Linked DNA regions of Homo sapiens: all the other regions are linked to region 2. Evidence: promoter capture Hi-C in human tissues and cell types (Jung and others, 2019). All regions are on one chromosome and are shown on one strand. Each heading gives the region's core, a stretch centred on a gene start or on the middle of the fragment in contact. The rest is flanking DNA. Distances are from core to core; before and after follow the strand shown.

Region 1 (2,700 bases), core at 136-2,635, 110 kb after region 2:
TGGCCTTTCCTGAACCTCCTTAATGATGAAGTTGGTCTAAATGATCTGTAAGCTCTTTCCTAAGTTTAGAATGTAATATACTGTAATGACCTTTTATGCGCCTGTCACTTGGGATTTTGATTCAATTGGTCTGGCGAGGGGCCAAGGCATCCATATTATTAAAAAGCTCTCCAGGTAATTCTAATATGCAATCAGGGTTGAGAATCACTGAATTATCTATAACATACTAAGAAGTAATCTAGTATACTTAGATGTACAAACAGATATCCTAGCTCAGGAATTCGTAAACATAGTGTATTTGTCATCAACCAGTAAGATTTTGCACATATGGTATTTTTTAAGTGGTAGGAACTCAGATTATTGTCAAAGCAAAATTTTAGCATTATTACTATTGCCATTATTTCATTTAGATTCCATCCGTTTACTCTTTAAAGACTTACTGGAAAGACAAGGCATTGTGTAAATTCTGCATGGGCTTCCTCATCTCCTCTATTTATTTCCTTACTAATCCTCCTATTTCCCTATAGCCATGCACATTCCTTCTTTTGTGTTTTTGAAAATGGTGCTTATCAATTACCAAAGGAGTAGTCTTTCTCTCTCTCTCTCTTTTTTTTTGAGACGGAATATCACTCTCTCACCAGGCTGGAGTGCAGTGGCGCGATCTCGGCTCACTGCAACCTCTGCCTCCTGGGTTCAAGCGATTCTCCTGCTTCAGCCTCCTGAGTAGCTGGTGCACGCCACCATGCCCAACTAATCTTTGTATTTTTAGTAGACACGGAGTTTCACTGTGTTGGCCAGGATGGGCTCGATCTCTTGACCTCATGATCCACTCACCTCAGCCTCCCAAAGTCCTGGAGTGATTACAGGCGTGAGCCACAGCGCCCTGCCAGGAGTAGTCTCTTTAAGTGGGAAACAGTGAGATGAAAAAGTGCTTATTCTTTTTTGATAATCTGGCTTATTTTTCATGACAAGGAAGCAAGGCCTATTAAAGGGGCCTCAAGCTCTGGGGGTCAGGGTGGGGCATTGCAGTGAGTGGACAGAACTAGAACAGAATGGCATCAGAATTGAGGCAGGTCTAGGGACCAGCTGCTCTCCCCAGCTCTCTTTCTCTCAGGTCACCTACTTTTTTCTGGACAGTTTTCCTTTGTCTACCAGCTTTCTTCAGATCCTTCATAACTTGGGCTTGCACATGGCTTTCTGGTTGGTCTCTGTTTGACCTGTAGATGTACTTTGCTTGCTGTCCCCTGTTCTTTTCTGTGCTAGGGGTGGAGGCAGGCTGGACTGAACCATACCAGAATTCCCATGGTCTCTGGATTCCGACTGGGTTTGACTAACTCATTAAGTGGGCCACCAGAGCAAGGGGAAAGTGAGAGATGAGGATACTGCCTGCACTCTGCTTCTCTCCTCCACTTTGCCTCTCTGGCAGTCTCTATATCCCTCTGAGGCTACAGCTCCTGCTGAGGGGCACTCTTCCACATTACTAGGTCTTGCTGAGCACCAGTAACCCTATTTCTGCCCCCTGCTCCTTCATACCCGGGTAGTAATGGCTTCCTGCTGCTGCTACGTTCTGGATGGCTTTACCGTCCTTTGTGTGTTCTCTTAACCCTGCTTACATTTCTGCAAACAGTCTTGGTTAAAGTCTCTTTCTTTGAACCATCTATATCTTCTGTTTCTTGCTGGGACTTTAAGATATAGTGGCCATGAATGGGATTCATGTCCTTCAGTTCCTTAGGACCTTTCCATCTTAATTCTCACTGCTCACTGGTGCCATTTCTCCAGGGTTTCCATTTCAGACTCCAGATGGTAAGACTTTGTTTTGCCTAATTTGTCTTCCTATTGCTGGGTTGGTTGGAGCTCATGGAAAAGCCATGGATGGTCTACACCTGGGTAAGGTGCCCATTCTTGATCCAGTCAGTCATTGATTGGAGGAGGAATCCTTTCACATAGAACAGGGGCTGTGGCACTGCAGTTTCCCTTAAAGGGGGATGCAGGCTGGTAGGGACCAATCAATTTCAATCTACTGCTTTAATTCCACTTTCTCAACATTCGAGTAATTTAACCCTGACTTGGCCTTCTGCCTTTAGTAAAGAAAATGATATATGGTTAATTTTTATTTAACTTTAATGAAAGTTAAGAATTATTTTCTAGAACCAAAGGGCTATGCCTTTTCTCCTCTATTTCCAACTCTATACTCCATTTCCCCTTTTCTAGCTTATTTTTCTTTTTTTCTTATTTCCATAAAACAGCGTCATGTTTTCCTGAGAAGTAATTTATGCTGTGAGTTGGGGGCTGAGGAAAAGAACCATTCTAATTTTCTTTTGCCAATCACCTTTTCTTCAATCCTTTTCCAATCACCTATGAAGCTTGGTGTCCACAGAGTACCAATTCTCACCAAAACAGAACTTTACCATTGTTATTATAGCATAGGAATCACATTGAAGAATTCTGATATGAGAAATTTGTTTATGACAATCTGTATTACACATTATATCATGTATCACTATTTTATTTAATTAAAATTTATTTTAAAAAAACTCATCTTTTGCTTCCAGGAAAGTGGGAAGAATATTAGGAAAATAAAAATGAACATAGAGTTCATTTTTAAGCCTCTATTTATGTTTCTTGCATTCCTCAGTTTGTAGATAATGCATGAACAAAAAAGAGACTGTGCTCAGAATTTCAGAAATACTGTTCTGATTT
Region 2 (2,700 bases), core at 10-2,509:
CGGGTGCAGAGGTATCTGGGCCAGTGTAGAAAGAAGACTTTGAGGTTAAGGCATGGTATTTAAGGTTCTGCTGCAAATGTTGTTTTAAACAAATCACCGTTCAACTACAACGGTATAATAATGCAAAAATAGCATCTGCCATGAAGAAAGTGCAGTGCTTTGAGAACTAGAAAAAGCAGTTAAATTTAAGGCCTTGCTTTACATTTCGGAGCCGCCATCGGGGCCAACTGGAGGTATGACTTTCCTGCACACAGGAGCAAGCTGAAAACTGCCCTGTGGCTTTATTCCACGTTCACCCCTGCAGCAAATGCCTTTTCTGTGAGGAACTACGGGCTGATGGGGAATCAGAGGTGGTTCTTCCTAAGTGGCGTTTCTGAGTGGGTTCCAGGAGTCCACAGTGACTTTAAGAGGCAGGCTACCTGGGGGACAGCCAGGCCGTGAGACGAGAAAGTTGTACAGTAACATTGCTGTGTGCCCATAAGTTTGTATCTTTTATTAGATTAGATAATATATCTCACATGCTGGGTTGTTAAGCAAATAAATATGTGTAAGGAAATTACAATCCACATAATTACATGAGTCGTTTTAACCACCACTCACCCCCAGAGTGATTAGATTTTCTTCTGCCTATGCCATTGCGGCCCAGTTGCTCTGTCACTGTCCATGGGGACAGGATCCCCTTACTCCGAAAAGCAAATCAGGAACAAACAGGGCAAGTGAGAGTCACTATCAGGGCCCAGAAACATGTGAGGAACAGCAGCTCAGAAGGGTCTCCAGACTGATGGGCCGGTGATCCTATATTCTTGTTGGGCTGACAACTCTTCTGGTTTCGGGCTCCAGGTGCTGGCAAGAAATCTCAGAGGTGGGGTGGGAGAGAGAGACGCGAGGCGACCCACGCAGACAAAGGGCTCCCACCCCACCCCCGGGCCACCCCGGCAGGCCGGGCAGGGGCCGAGCCTGGGGTCGCGCAGGGGGACCGAGAGGGCAGCGCGGGGCTGGGGGTGGGGAAGAGGCGGGAACCGAGCCGCAGGCCGCTGCGAGGAGTACTACCCCGCCACCCCCGCGCCGCGAGTTTCCGCGCACGTGGCCGTGGGGCCGGTCTCGCTCCCGCCCCCCGCCGGGCCCGCGCAGCCCCCTCCTCTGCGGCTCCCGGAGCGGCCAGAGCGCGCGGCGGCGGGCGGGGGCGGGCCGCAAGCAGGGCTCCCTGGCCGCTTTCCAGGTCGGCGCACTAATACGGGCGATGAGGCTTCGCGGCTCCAGTCTGACTGACGCCGGCTGGGGCCGCCGCCGCCGCCGCCGCCGCCGCCGCTGCTGCAGCCGCTGTCTCGGTCCCCGCCGCCGCCGCCGGGCCCTGCAGGCGCTGGGCGCGCGCAGCCAGGCAGTGAGTGCGCGGCGCTCGGAGCGGGCGGCCGGGGGACCACGGCGGGGGCGGGGTTGGGGGCGCCGGACCTGGGTGGGGGAGGGATGAGTGGCACGGCGGGGACAGGTAAGACGTGCCCTCCTCGGCCGCGCGCTGCTTGTGTGCGTGCGTGTGAGCGCATTGAGTGGAGGGCGAAGTTGTTCGTCCTCGGGGCAGCCTGGGAGGCTCCTCGGCGTGAGGCTTGGCTTTTGGCGGTCGTTGTTCCCGGGTTTTTTGGTGGAGCCTGTCTGGGGTGGAGTGGGGTGGGGTGGGGTGGGCGCGGGGCCGGAGGGGACTGCTCTGGGGAGTTGGCCGCGGCGCAGCTCGCCTTCCTCGCGCCTGCATCCGCCCGCGCCGCGGGCCCCGGGACCTGTCAGGGGATGTTCGACCCGCGGCGGGGGCGGCGGTCGGGTCGGGGCTGGGGCCCGGGGCGTGGGCAGGGACCAGGATAGGCGCCTGAGGGGTCGCTTGCTGTAGCTGGAGATAGGGGACAGCGGACAGAGGGGGCGGCGGGGGTCGTCATTGTGACTCTTTGGGGGCCACTTTTAAACTCGCCAGCGCCGAATTGGCCTCACTTGCCTTCTGTTTCGTAGGCTTTTTGCTTTGTTTACCTTTGAGGCATGCGAACTGAGAAAAAAAGTTAGGAATGTTGTTGAAGTGTCTCCGGGCTCGCGCTTGGACTGTGTCGGAGCCGGGGTGTTTGTCTTTTCCTTGGCCCGCCCCTCGGTGCCAGCTCTCCGCAGAGGGGAGGGGGCGAGGTGGGAAGCAGATACAGGAGACTGCCTGACGCCAGCTTTGTGATCGGAAGGAGGAGCGCTGGGAGAACATTTTTATGGATGGCTAATCGCTGACAAGTTTTCCCGTTACTATTCCTTCCTCCTCCTGCCCTTGACCGTGGACATTTGAAGTGATAGTTTGGAAATACTACGTTGACTTATTTCTGGGCTGGAGTGGGTACTCCTGAGAACTAACCTACAAAGGATACAAATCGAGTTTGGAGATAAAATTGTATGTAAATTCTTTACCCAGTAGTTTACAGTGAGAAACACACCCACAGGGCACTGTGGAGTGCTTTGGATGGATCCAGTTTACTAGTACCATTTCGGTGGCTTGCCAGATTTCTCGGATGATCTTTTGGAAATGTAGGTTAGCAAGAAGCATGGAGGCTGACCGTTAAGTCGTGAGGCATTTAATAATGCTGCCTCCTAAGCAGTAACTGAGCGGAACGTTTGTGGCACCCGTCTGGGAAAGTGAAATGTGACTACTACAAGCATGTCTCCTGCCTTAGCATTCCTCCAAGT
Region 3 (2,700 bases), core at 6-2,505, 92 kb after region 2:
GCATCTAGTAAGAATAAACTAAAGAACAGAATAAAGAAATCAGCTAACTCAAAGGTCAACAACTGGACTTTAATGAATTAATTTTGTTAAAAGTGTTTTGAACAGATATGCAAGTAAAAACACACACATTAAGAAATGAACAAAAACGTTCTTGCTCTCCATAAGTACTTCTTAGAACAGCCATGATTAAGTCGAACTTTATATATAGAGTTTAAAAAACAAGTAACAAATTTTTGTAGAGTTAAACTTGAGACACATACATTTATATCCTAATATTGGATATACTCTCTTGACATTTAATTTGTTATTCCTATTGGTAGGTTTGCCTTTTTAAAGTTTTAAAGTTTTCCTAGGAGAAAGTATAAGAAAAAGGTATCCAGATTACTTATCATTTTTGAACATTACTTAGGAATAACAGTTTTCAGATAGCTCAATTGCGAAAAACAATGACAAAATACTGGAGTGTTAGTTTTATTTTCAGGATCACCTTTTTGAAAAGGATCTTTTTCATTTTGTTTAATAAAAAATAAGTATAAGAAAAATAATTTTGTCTTGGCATTGGTGGGCTGAGATCTATACTGTTCACAAATTCAACAAACAAGAAATGTCTGCTTTAAGAGATCAGCACTAACAGGTAACATCAAAGAGAGAAGCCAACTGTAGGAGACACATCCCAGTGTGCTTAGTTAATCCGTCAGGTTTTACTAACACACCTCTGAAAAGAGATGCACATCCTAAATTCACAGATATTAAACAATAATCACTTTCCTTACGTCTATATAAAATGTGCTTACCTCTTTGACAGCTTCAGTCTTAACTGCAAAGAAAGGTTATTAAGAGAACCCAATTATAGGTGCCCCAACTACATGTTAGCACCACAAAATAGCCATCAACATTTCTTAGGAGTGTTATTGGCACTGCGGGTGAGACAATCTTTAGTATGTGGGACTACCCCTGACACTGCAGAACATTTAGCATTCCTGGCCACTCACTAAAAGCCAGTGGTTTTCAAGGTCACTATGACAATCAAATTGACCCTTGATGAGAACCACTGAGCTAGATGAGTCAAGATTAATATCTATTAACTTTATGACTTCCACAGAAAGTAACTGCTTCATTACCTTCAGTAACAATGACTGAAGAGGAATATATTTTTTAAAAAACATTATAATTAAATGTTATTTGGAAAGATAAGCTGACTTCTTCAAACTCACAGTAATCTGAAAGATTAGATGCACAAAGTGCAATACTTACTTATCCCCAAATGCACACATACATTTACAGGAAAATGTTTATGTTCTACAGGCATAGATTATTACCCCATTTATGTCTGGTAAAAAAATATGCTCATCTATTACAATAAGATAAAAAACCATGTAGATGTTCTTGGTAAGTTCCCTCACATTGATGTTCCTGGAAACTGCTGTTGTCTTTGCTCCAAAACTTGCTGATTTAATAGCTGTTGCTGTTTCTGTAAAAATTGCACTACTTCTGGACTTCTTAGTAACGACTTAGAAAGAAAAGAAAAAAATTATTAATAGCATTAATCTATGTCATTAGACTGTTTTCATGCTAATTACTCTGATGTGTCCCTACATATGATACAATATGTTCACAAGAATATGCCTGAATCAAAAGCACTTTTACATCGGATGCACTGCAACTAAGCTGCAAACTAAAAATAATGTGATGTCACACATCAAAATACTAAAACCTAAAAATAACGGGTGAAGTCTGTTATTGGTGACTTTGTGTAAAAAGGAAACACCTTCTCTAATATGCCAGCAAATATACTCTCTTGAAATATGTAAGAACAAAGAGCTAAAAGTAGCACTGACCCAGGATTATAGCAAGAAAAAAAATGGAGATGAAAGGGGGCCACATGTGAAAATAGCAGCTAAATGCCAGTTTGTACATACATACAAACTAGTGCTAGAAGTCAAGTTTCTCATTAGGCAACTAAGTCTTCATAAAGAAATTAAAAATTGTGTGTATAGGTGTGTATATATATATATGTACATATATATCGGTATATACCAAAATTTCAGGAAAAAATATAACTGCTCTAAAACATCCAATACCTTTTTGTACACTCATCACTTTAAAATATAGTTGTAATAATATAACAAATATAACAGACTATGATTAACATATTATTATTAGAGACAGGGTCTCACTCTGTTCCCCACGCTGGAGTGCAGTGGCGTGAGCATAGCTCACTGCAGTCTTGAACTCCTCGGCTCAAGCAATCATCCTGCCACAGTCTCCTGTAATAGGTTTTTATAATAAAATACTTACATAAATTTATAGAGAAAAAAATCTTTGGCCCCAATAAGCTGCAAAAAGATAAACTGAATAAAGTGAACATACTATCATTAAATACTGACTTTCAGATTATATGTATTATATCTTAGTACATTTTCTATTTATTAAACAGTTTTATTTAAAAATCATCTTAGCTGTTATGACACTGTTGGACATTTAGGCTGTTTCAACTACCTTTTTTACTATTTATGAGAAATATATTCCTGGCAATACCTTTATGTTTAACTCTATCCATATTTAGGATTTACATTCTGTAAATGTCTTCATATTAAATGTGATGTCTGAGTTGAAAGGGATGACTCCTGGTACATATTGCCCAACTGCTTTCTGAAAGTGCCATACCAATATATAATGCCATTAACTACTTGAGAATGT
Region 4 (2,738 bases), core at 122-2,621, 120 kb before region 2:
TATAATAGGTTCCTCAAATTTAACATGACAAAAACAGAGCTTTATTTTACCTCCCAAACCAGTTTTATCACCAGTCTCTTCAGTCTAACAGATGACTCTGTCCTTACCTTCCACATTCAGTCCATCAGCAAATGCCAGTCTCTCTTTAAGATACATGATCGTGCCCAGTGCTCTGAACAAAACCTTTGCTTTCCTGTTTGTCTTCATCTTCTAGATCTCATCCTCACTCGCTGCATTCCATCCATCCTTGTCTCATTTCCACAATAAAACACTCCAAGCTTGTTCCTACAGTAAGAACTTCTCATATGTTATTCCCTCTGTCTGGAATGATCTGTCCCTGAAGTGTCTGGCCGTTTCTTGTGATTCAGATCTTAGGTAAAACCTAAGGTTTCTATCTGCACATACAATCCAGATTAGCCCTTCCCTATTTGATTTCCTTTATAGAATTCATCACTATCTAAAATTACTTTGTTCTGTTTACATGTTTATTGCCTGTCTTCCCACAACTGAGAGCAAATGTTGTCTGACTACTGTATCTGTGAAGCTGTACCTGGATAGTGCCTAGCACATAGTAGGCATTGTAGTTGCTCAGTAAATATTTATTTAAAAGAATGACAATAAGAATGACAAAACATGGAGACCACAGTACCCACTAAAAGTTCTGAATGGGTGAAAAACATACTATGAGTGACCATGGCAAGTCATAACTAGCAAGACTTCGATGATAATAGTTCTTACATTTGAGCATAGAAAGGACTGAAAAACTATTTTTCTTTTTTTTTTTTTTTGAGGTGGAGTCTCGTTCTGTCACCCAGGCTGGAATGCAGTGGCCCAATCTCGGCTCACTGCAAGCCCCACCGCCTGGGTTCATGCCATTCTCCTGCCTCAGCCTCCTGAGTAGCTGGGACTACAGGCGCTCGCCACCACACCCAGCTAATTTTTTTGTATTTTTAGTAGAGACGCAGTTTCACCATGTTAGCCAGGATGGTCTCGATCTCCTGACCTTGTGATCCACCCGCCTCGGCCTCCCAAAGCTGGGATTACAGGCATGAGCTACTGCACCCAGCCTGAAAAACTATTTTTCATTTGAATTTTATATTTAGCTTCCCTCTTATTAATAAAGGCTAAGGGCAAAATTATATTTCTGAAAATTTTAGCAGAGCAAATATAGAAGTTATATCTAGAAGCTAAAACACTGGCAAGGTTGGTTGGCAATTTATAACAATGATAAACTTTATAGTAATGACAAAGTTAGTGAAATGTAACAGTAAGCCTGTGAGCTGCAGAAGAACAGCAGTTCCAAGGATCTGTAACATAATAGTATGTAAATGCCAAAAGTCAAACTGTTGACTTGGTAGATGCCAAAGTCAATCTATAATTAGAAACTATTAAATAGTTTTAAATTGCTTCTTGTGTCATAGTGATGAACATGAAATACTTCCTCTGAAAAGGTTTACATAGTGTTAAATCTACCAAGGAAATCTACTGAAGAGTACATACATGAGTGGCCAGAAATGTTGCATGAATGTAAAGAATGCGAAATGTTTGATATAAACCCACTTATTTAGGCTTTTGGAAAAAAAAATGACGTTTACGTATTTTTGCCCAAACAGGTTAATATTTTTCATTGCGGATGTGTCATAGCAGAAATACGTGACTACAGGCAGTCCAGTAACATGAAATCTCCTGGTTACCAAAGTCGGCACATTCTCTTACGTCCAACAATGCAGGTAAGGATGTTTAATTAAGAAATACTATTTTAGATTTTAGTTGGGAGTTTTATTTATCGAATTCTTCATATGTTTGTGCATAGATTAATAAGTTTTTTAAATTTTTATTTCTTCTAGACTTTAATTTGTGATGTACATTCAATAACAAGTGATAACCACAAATGGACCCAGGTTAGTTGTTTTGTTTTTTAATCTCAAACAGGCAAAATATAGGATGAAAAAAAATTATCATTAAGCAAAAGTGATTTTCTGCTTATTTTTATTCAATAATTAAGTTTGATGCTTTATGTGAAAAGCTGGTATTCCTTTATAAGATCTAGAAGTTAAGGGTCTCTTTATATGTGTAGTAATCCCTCAAGTTGCCTAAGATCATTTTAAGGTCAAGCTGGCCTAATATATTCAATGAGATAAAACTTAGTTCTTTATCTCCTCTCAAACAGAAGAAAAATGTTTTGTTTTTACCATGGTTACAAATAGATACTGGTTTTTTTTTTCAAATAATTCAAGTTTCTAAACCCTAGCCTAGCCTATCTTTCTTTGCCATTTATACTGGTTGCCTTGAAATGAGGGGAACTCTCTTACCCCTGAGAATAACCAGTTAACCCCTCCAGTTCTGGCTCAGTGTTATATGAGGGGACTTCAGAAAGTTTGTGGAAAACTGGAATTAAAAGATAATAATAAAAAATATAAACTTTTCTTCTCAATATAAGCTCCATCAAGTTCAAGATGCTTGTAAATGATATCAACCATTTATTTAGTCCACCCCTGAAGAACTGAGGGTCCTGGGAACTGAACCATATCAATGCAATCTTTTCTACATTATTAACTGAAGAAAAATGGGTACTTTTTAAACTTTTTTTTTTTAAGATTAGGAAACAAAAAGAAGTCAGAAGGAGCCAAATCTGGACTGTAAGGTGCATACCTAATGGTTTCCCATCAAAACTCTTACAAAATTTCTCTTTTTTGATGAGAGGAATGAGTAGAGGCATTGTGGTGCAGAAGTCTCTA

The links. Contacts are between HindIII fragments. The study calls those that stand out against the background at their distance.
Region 1: a fragment that was not itself captured here is called in contact with the fragment with the promoter of SMAD9 in region 2 in 2 of the 25 tissues and cell types used here (H1 embryonic stem cells and liver).
Region 3: a fragment that was not itself captured here is called in contact with the fragment with the promoter of SMAD9 in region 2 in 2 of the 25 tissues and cell types used here (bladder and thymus).
Region 4: a fragment that was not itself captured here is called in contact with the fragment with the promoter of SMAD9 in region 2 in 2 of the 25 tissues and cell types used here (adrenal gland and spleen).

The regions. Positions count from the first base shown.
Region 1 is chr13:36,810,581-36,813,280 of GRCh38, reverse strand. No RefSeq gene overlaps it. Among named protein-coding and RNA genes, the nearest start is that of RFXAP, 7.3 kb to the left of the region's middle. The HindIII fragment of the contact is 5,306 bases long and covers 1-2,700 here.
Region 2 is chr13:36,918,797-36,921,496 of GRCh38, reverse strand. SMAD9 (SMAD family member 9) reads left to right here and starts at 1,259. Exons shown (of 7, transcript NM_001127217.3): 1 at 1,259-1,381. RefSeq lists silencers at 1,119-1,168, 1,279-1,348. The HindIII fragment of the contact is 20,741 bases long and covers 1-2,700 here.
Region 3 is chr13:36,826,453-36,829,152 of GRCh38, reverse strand. It overlaps RFXAP (regulatory factor X associated protein), which reads right to left. Exons shown (of 3, transcript NM_000538.4): 3 at 49-1,510. The coding sequence ends at 1,400. Among named protein-coding and RNA genes, the nearest start is that of RFXAP, 8.6 kb to the right of the region's middle. The HindIII fragment of the contact is 6,804 bases long and covers 1-2,700 here.
Region 4 is chr13:37,039,568-37,042,305 of GRCh38, reverse strand. SUPT20H (SPT20 homolog, SAGA complex component) reads left to right here. Exons shown (of 26, transcript NM_001014286.3): 8 at 1,614-1,730; 9 at 1,848-1,901. Among named protein-coding and RNA genes, the nearest start is that of SUPT20H, 19 kb to the left of the region's middle. The HindIII fragment of the contact is 4,386 bases long and covers 1-2,738 here.